Regions from separate parts of the Homo sapiens genome. Here region 1 is linked to region 2. Evidence: promoter capture Hi-C in human tissues and cell types (Jung and others, 2019). All regions are on one chromosome and are shown on one strand. The core of a region is centred on a gene start or on the middle of the fragment in contact, and the rest is flanking DNA. Distances in the headings are between cores, read along the strand shown. Region 1 overlaps FNDC3A (fibronectin type III domain containing 3A). Region 2 holds the start of MED4 (mediator complex subunit 4).

Region 1 (4,101 bases), core at 572-3,071, 890 kb after region 2:
TTTCTGTATTCTGGGTGCTATTGCAAAAAACTTTATATGTATCAGTTTACTTAAGCCTTAAAACATCTCTCTGCGGTAGATACTATTATCACCAAATGTCATAGAGTAATAATAGAAGCACTTTCATTAATAGATAGGAACACAACATTGGTTCAAAAGTCTTAGGCAATACATTAAGAACAAGAAAAATAATTAACCTGTAAATAAAGGGGGGAAATGTATCACTATTATTTAGAGTTGATATGACTGCTTACAAATACAAATAAATATAATACAAATACAAATAGCAAAAAAATATGAGATAACAGAAAAAGATTTGTATTAAAAAATTTCAGTAAGCTGATTGGCTATAAGATAAAGTTAGAAAATTCATTAGCCTTCTTATATATCAACAATAACCAACTATGAAATACAGTAATAAGAAGTAGCAGCCTAAACTATAAAATACTTAAGATTTTAAAATGTGTAATAGCTATGTGAAGAAAACTGCAAAAAGATGTGAATGGATGGAGGAGTATTCATGAATGTGTCAACTTAATGCCATAAAAATGACAGCTTTTACTAAATTATTCTATAAAGTCAATGCAGTTCTAATCAGAAATTCAACAGGAGTTTTAAAATGGAATTTGACAAACTGATGGTTCAAGTTTTGAGAAGGGAGCATGCACAAGAATGGCCAAGTAAATTTCAAAAAGAAGTATAATAAATGGGACCCATCAAAGGTCGAAACATTATAAAATTACAATTATTAAAATAAGAATTTGGAGTAGGAATAGGCATATTGATCAAAGGAATAGAATAATAAATTCAGGAGAAGATCCATAGATAAACATGGATAAAGAAGAATTGTATGATAAATGAATGAGTAATGGAAGAACTGGTCTATAAAGGGTGTGGGACAATCAACTGTTTAATTGAAGTAAAGATAGTTAGGTACCCACTTCGTGACACTCTCAAAACTAAGTTCCAGGTGGACTAAATGGTTTTTTATTTTTATTTATTTATTTATTTTTGAGATGGAGTCTCGCTCTGTCACCAGGCTGGAGTGCAGTGGCGTGATCTCGGCTCACTGCAACCTCCGCCTCCCAGGTTCAAGCGATTCTCCTGCCTCAGCCTCCCAAGTAGCTGGGATTACAGGTGCCCACCACCACGCCCAGCTAATTTTTGTATTTTTAGTAGAGACGGGGTTTCACCATGTTGTCCAGATGGTCTCGATCTCTTGAGCTTGTGATCTGCTCGCCTCAGCCTCCCAGAGTGCTGTGATTACAGGCGTGAGCCACTGTGCCCAGCCCCGAGTGGACTAAATGTTGATAAATAAAAAATAAAATGACAAAACTTTTAAAAGTTAATTTAAAAACTCGTTGGAGTAGAGAAGGCCTTTTAAGTGAGACATCAAACTTAGATGCCATTTAAAAAGGAAGGCAAGCAATAGACTGGGATAAAATATTCGACATGTAATAGACAAAATTAATATTCAAGGTATATAAGGTGTACCTACAAATCAATATGAAAAAGATAACCTGATAGAAAATGGGAAAGAATGTAAGCAGGAAATTTATAGAGGTAGAAATATAGGTAGCCTGTTAAGTTTTGAAGGAATACTATTGAACCGAATATAAATAGCTTCATCTTTTTAGGAGAAAAGTTTGGCAGTATCTATCCATTTCAAATGTACGTTCTCCTGAGCCAGAAGTTTTATTTCTATATGTCTGTAATATAGAAATGCTATCATTCATTAATAGAGAGTATTGCATGATTATTCCATGCAGAGGAGAAAATGTATGATGGGAAACTGGAAGTAATAAGATCATCATTAGAACAGTTAAATTATGGTGTGCCCTTACACTATAATATTAGATACTTATGAAAAAACATGAAATAGACATAGATGTACTTCTTAAGATATTTTACATGAAAGGGCGAGATACAATATAATACATACACAAAGACACAATTCATACACACACAAAAAAAATACAATACACAAAAGCAGTGTATGTGATTTCACTTACATAACAACCAATCCCAGAAAACCTAACACACAGGTAAGCACAGAGAAAAAGACTGGAAGGGTACACCACAGTTGTTAGCTATAGAAATAGGAGTTGGATTAGGGATCAGGAAAGAGTTAAAAACAATGTTTGTATGTGTATTTTCAAGTATAAGCAAGTACAGCCTTTGTGATATAACAAACATAACAACACATGCAAGGCTTTGTTATGATTGGTCCTGATTAGGACCATTCCTCCTGGGTGGACAGCTTTGATTTATGTCGGTTTTCCCTGCGTAATTTTTAATAGCACTTCCTTTCACTTGCAGAAGCTTCCCAGTTGGTGTCTGAAGTCATTGGTGTTTTTAGAAATAGCAATTTCTGTATAGTGTTGGATCTGAAACTGTGTTAAAGTGGGTTAAAGAAGTGAGAATTCTACCAGTGATTCTTAACCTCTATAACTACAACTGCCAACCAAGACAAAATAAAGTGCTTTTTATTTTCAGAGTTTCTGTTATAAAAACACTTTGCTTTTTTAAATATAAAGTTATAATTTCGAATGTAGTTTTTTTAAAGTCCCATATGTCTGGATATTTTGATCCTCCCCTTTAATATTAAAACCTAATATTTCAAGACAGTTAATGATAGAGGTCAAGAGAGGAATCAGAAGCTTAAGAGGAAGACAGAGTAAGGAGAAGGAAGTTGTTTTTTTTTTTTTTTTTTTTTTTTTTTTGAGGCGGAGTCTTGCTCTGTCGCCCAGGCTGGAGTGCAATGGCGTGATCTCGGCTCACTGCAACCTCCGCCTCCCAGGTTCAAGAGATTCTCCTGCCTCAGCCTCCTGAGTAGCTGGGACCAGAAGCACGTGCCACCACACCCGGCTAATTTTTTGTATTTTTTAGTGGAAACGGGGTTTCACCATGTTGGTCAGACTGGTCTCAAACTCATGACCTCATGATCCGCCCACCTCAGTCTCCCAAAGTGCTGGGATTACAGGCGTGAGCCACTGCGCCTGGCCCGGAAGGTTTTTTTAAAAAGAAGTTGAAGGAAGATGAGTATGATTAGAGGCAATCTTTAACCAAGGCATAGTTGTAGATTTATAAACAAAGAATCTGGTCATCTCAGAAAGGACTACTTTAAGGACTACTGGATTCTGCAGACAAATCTACTTATAGGAAATAAAGAAATGTTACTTGATTTTATTATGATAAAATTATTTTGGAGGAATTAGTGAAGGAAACATGTTAATATGGTTAAGTTATAGTAATACAGTAGCTTTTACACAGGAACTCAAACTTTCTGTTGTGAATTTAGTTACCAATGTATTACTGTGGCCAGAAAATATTCAGAAACTACAGGTTTAATCTTCAGTCCAAAAATCACACCAATGGATTTGAAGTTCTACAAGAGCAAAGTTAACAATCTATAATATAAAAACTAAAGTTTTATATAATACTTCTAAAAAGGACAGTAAAATATTTGGAAGTGAAAATAGGATTGTCCCAGGTGTAGTTGCCTTTTGGCTCTAAAGGGTAGCCTATGTGCTCCAAAGACACTAGACAGCTAGAGCTATATGTGGAACTTAAGAAGATGTTACTTGAAAGAAAAACTGATCTATGTGCACACTATCAGTCCTTTAATGGACTGGGGTTCGTTTCTTGGAAGCAGTTCTTTCTCTCTTGTTTCCATAGTTTCCTGACTGGAAGTATCTTTTTGATCAAGATTTCCTTTGAAGTCTATTTTAACAGGATTTTCATGTTAGTATTAAGGTATAATTTCTTAGTGGGAGAATGGGGGCTGTATCTCCTAAATGTCTAATTAAATTTAAATTTAGTATATCTGACTAAGAAGGGTGAGGATGGTGGCTTGAATGCCCTCTTCCCTTTTAAACCTTTCTTCACTTAAGGGACATGAAAGAGTGAGGCTTATCCATCCGACCAACACTACTCTTTCCTTCTTTCCAGTGGATGTGGGATTGGAGAAGAATAAGATAAATAAGTTACAGTAAATTTGTTGCTAACAATCTGTGTAAATTATTGATTTCTTTGTAAGTGTATGAACACTTTCATTAGGTTAAATTGTTGATATTTTAAAGTTTTTGACCTCAGTGGCAG
Region 2 (4,185 bases), core at 1,471-3,970:
TTACAGGCATGAGCCACTGCGCCCGGCCTAGTGTTTCATTCTAAATGCAATGAGAAGCCACTGGGTTATTTTAAACAGGGAAATGGCATGACCTGATTTATACTTTTAAAAACTGTTGAGTGATCTGGTAAATAGACTGTAAGAGGGCCAGAACAGGAAGTAAGTTAGGTGGTTTCTGTAGTGTTCCAGGCAAAAAATGACACTGGTTTTGACGAGGTTATAGCCTCCAGGACTTAGTAATCGTGATGGGAGAAACATGGACAGATTTCAGATATCTTTTGGAGGTAGAGCTAACAGGACTTGCTGATGGATCAACAGCGTATGAAAACAGCATGTTAAGTAAACTTTTTAGTGTACGCCACAAGTGAGACATAGACGGTTGAGAACCTCTGGTCTAAGTAAAAGCTGGTTTCAGGTGGGGCAGGAGTGGTGCTGACTAGAGTGGGGCTATGGTAGGAGATGTGGGATAAGCCTTCCTCTGTTCTTGCAAATCTGGGAGCGTGAGTCCACAGAAGGCTTTACAAGGCTTGCCTTAGGCGCCGGAGTAGAGGGGAGGTAGAAGTCTCTAAGACTTAGTCATGTTCTGTAACAGTCCAGGACAAAATAGAAACCCCTGTCCTCCCCAACTGCGAAAAAGAGGCCAAAGGAAGCCCCCACACTCAAGAGCCCTGTCCTGCTAAAAAGAAGGTGCATTCCCAGCATACTGCATTAGAATCCAGACACAATTCCCCATAGAAATAAAATTTCCATAGCGGTTAGAGCCTACATTATTAGCAGTAATACACTTTTCAGGTAAACAGAATTAACAGGCTGGTGTGGAAAACTCAAGATTCCTATCAACATGGTTCTGTGGAACAATGAGTTTTGAGTTACAAATGGGTTAAAAAAAACGTTTAGCCTACAACCTGTGTTTCAACTTTTTAAGACTATCTCCTTGCATTACATTTTATAAACTAATAAATATCCCGAAAGGCTATATAATCAGGTTAATAGAAAAAAAAAGATCCTAAGTTATAAATCCACTATTTTTAAAGAGGCTAAATCTAAAAATATGTAAGGTATATTCGTGATTTTTCTTCTCATTTTCATAAATGCAAGCCAGACACAAATTACATTCAGAGACTGACAAACTTCACAGATCACAGAATCAGTACACATAACTACCTCTGAGTGAACACATGAGACCTTTCTGGAAGCCAGTCACACCACCAGAGCAGCTTCATTCTGTGAAGAAGTTCCAATGATCCGCCCGCCTTGGCCTCCCAAAGTGCTCGGATTATAGGCGTGAGCCACCACACCCGGCCCTAATACAGTTTATTTTAAACAGTGGATCAAACACATAAGCCATTTAATTTCTGCTGTCTAGGTGTTTTCGGGTTTTCTTCCATCATTAAATATTGTGCTGACCTGGTAACTTGGTAGCAATACGATGGCAAGGACTAAATTTACACCAAAAATAAAGTGCTGATTATATCACGTATATTTTAAAATACAACAGGTAAGATTTATTCTAAAGCTGTCAAAGAATGTTGGCTATAGAAAAAGTGACATTTGAGCTGGATTCTGAAGGATATATGAATCATTCACCAAATCGGGAGTAGACTGGGAATGGCACTGAAGATGTGGAAGTCTGACTAAAGAATTTGAACTTTACCTCACTGGACAACGCAAACCTACCAATGAGGTAGCTTTTATATAATTTTTCTGCAGAAAAGTGATATAAGATGCCTTTTAAAACTGGTATCGGCCAATATAAAAGGATAAAGTGCAGAAGCATGAGGCAATTAAAACTGTTTGGGAGGCTACATTTAAGAAGGAGTTATGAACAGCGGGGTTGGAACGAGAGGGCAAATTGGAGCGACACTTTAGGAGGTAGAACCAAGATAATTTACCATCCAAGTCAATGGGAGGGAGTCAAGGAAGGCTTCAACTTGAAAGACTTATCATGAAAGGTGACAGAATATGAAGAACGACATCTAATTTCATCTCCTATCTCTGACACACAACCATCCTAAACAACTTGCAACTCCACCAAGCCAGGCTTTTTGCACTTGCTGTTCCATCTATCTGTGCTGCCTAGTGAGTTTGGCGAGCTCATGCTTCCCAAGCAGCACTTTCTTCAGAGGGCCTGCCCTGACTACAACCAAAAAAGGTGCCTAGTCCCTGTGCTCCAGTACCCCGCAGCGCAGCCCTCTAATAAAAACAGGCCCCAAGCCAGTTTACACATCTGTCTCTCTCTCGACAGCTGGCATCCAGTCTACCCTTCACTACCGTCTCCCCAATGCTGAGCCCCCAAGGAGCGTTCCATAAATGTTAAGTGGCTGGCCGCGGACGAAGAGGCTCAGACCGCGCGAGTTCTTATCATTACTAAAATTCCCTCTAACGGGAAAAACCGCCGCCCAGAGTGCCAGAGGGCTGCGGACCCCACGTCCATGACCCTCATGCACCCGAAACTCCCGAGCTGGCCCTCCCCGCCGAACCCCGAGAACGAGCACAAACGCAGGGCCGGCCGGCTCCGGGGTCAGTCCCCCGGCCCAGCTCCAGCCCGGCTCTCAGGCTCGCCGCATTACCTAGACAGGACCTCCAAGTCCTCAAGCGCAGACAGCAGCCGCTCTCGTGTGCTGTTACCACCCGCCACTCCCAAACCGCCTCCCAGCCGCTCCTTCTCCTTCTCACCACTCGAAGACGCAGCCATTTTCCCCAGAGTCCCGCCACCGGCGCACGCGCAGAGCGAGCTGACGCAGGTGCGTGGCGAGAAGGCGGGCTCGGAAGGCGGAAGAGTCACCCAGGAGAGGAAAAAGAGGCCTGGCGAGAGCGCCCCCTTTGGGCCTGGAGGCGCACTGCGGACACCGGCGCCATCTGTTGGGCCGGCGAGGGCTTTCTGGTCCAAACCCTGGGAGCGACAGCTGAACTGAGAACAGTGGGGGCAACGCAGTCTGATTCTCCTGGGCCTAATGGTTTTTTTTCTTTCTTTCTTTCTTTTTTTTTTTTTGAGACGAGTCTCGCTCTGTTGCCCAGACTGGAGTGCATCGCCGCGGATGTCTTGGCTCACTGCAAGTTCCGCCTCCTGGGTTCACGCCATTTTTCCTGCCTCAGCCTCCCGAGTAGCTGGGACTACAGGCGACCGCCACCACGCCCGGCTAATTTTTTGTATTTTTAGTAGAGACGGGGTTTCACCTTGTTAGCCAGGATGGTCTCAATCTCCTGACCTCGTGATCCGCCTGCCTCAGCCTCCCAAAGTGGTGGAATTACAGGCGTGAGCCACCGCACCCGGCCCACCTTAACCATTTTTAAGTGGATAGTTCAGTGGCATTAAATACATTCATACTGTTGAGCAACTATCCATCTCCAAAACCTTTTATCTTGTAAAACAAACTCTGTACTCACTAAATGCTAACTCCTTATCCCTCCCTTCTCCAGGCCCTGGCAACCACCATTCTACTTTCCATTGCTGTAAGTTTGGCTACTCTAGGTACCTCATATAAGCAGAATCATACAGTATTTGTCTTTTTGTGTCTGGCTTATGTCACTCAGCATTATGTCCTCCAGGTTCATCCATGATGTAGCATGTGCTGGAATATCTTTCCTTTTTAAGACTAATATTCCATTGTATGCATATGGCACCTTTTGTTCATCCATTCATCTGACGATGGACAGTTAGGTTACTTCCACATTGCTATAATCCATCTTTATAGCCATACATCTTCCAACAAAATGTTTTGCTCATTACTCAGGTTAATTATTGAACTGAAGGAACCAATACAGTACATAAGTAGTAGTTAATTAACATAGTTTAAGTCATTGATGTACCACACATTCCAAACCAGAACTGGTTGTCAAAGGCAAAAATACGTCTTAGCCTACTTTTCCTAGGGATAACAATGTAGTAGGGATCACTCTCTACCAGAAAAAAGCAAAGTTACAAGCCTATTGGGAATGAGGATTCCATATTGCTATTATAAAAGATGGTCTGGGACTGCCTCACTCCCATGAGGTAGTAGTACCTGTAGTCCTTTCATTTCAGGGTCTCATCCTCTACTCTGTCTTTTTGGAGGTGCTAAACCTGACTCCTGGGCACCCAGAGTTGACAAGTCTTTTAGAAATTCATGTTAAATAAATTCACTCATAGCAACTGCTGCGTAATCTAGAATGCTGATTTACTCACTTACGATGAAAAGTAATAGT

The links. Contacts are between HindIII fragments. The study calls those that stand out against the background at their distance.
Region 1: a contact is called between a fragment that was not itself captured here and the fragment with the promoter of MED4 in region 2, in 2 of the 25 tissues and cell types used here (aorta and dorsolateral prefrontal cortex).

Annotation. Positions count from the first base shown.
Region 1 is chr13:48,983,691-48,987,791 of GRCh38, forward strand. The region is part of intron 1 of FNDC3A (fibronectin type III domain containing 3A); the gene reads left to right. Among named protein-coding and RNA genes, the nearest start is that of FNDC3A, 9.8 kb to the left of the region's middle. The HindIII fragment of the contact is 3,503 bases long and covers 71-3,573 here.
Region 2 is chr13:48,092,384-48,096,568 of GRCh38, forward strand. MED4 (mediator complex subunit 4) reads right to left here and starts at 2,721. Exons shown (of 7, transcript NM_014166.4): 1 at 2,571-2,721. The coding sequence starts at 2,695. RefSeq lists a silencer at 1,930-2,224. The HindIII fragment of the contact is 12,809 bases long and covers 1-4,185 here.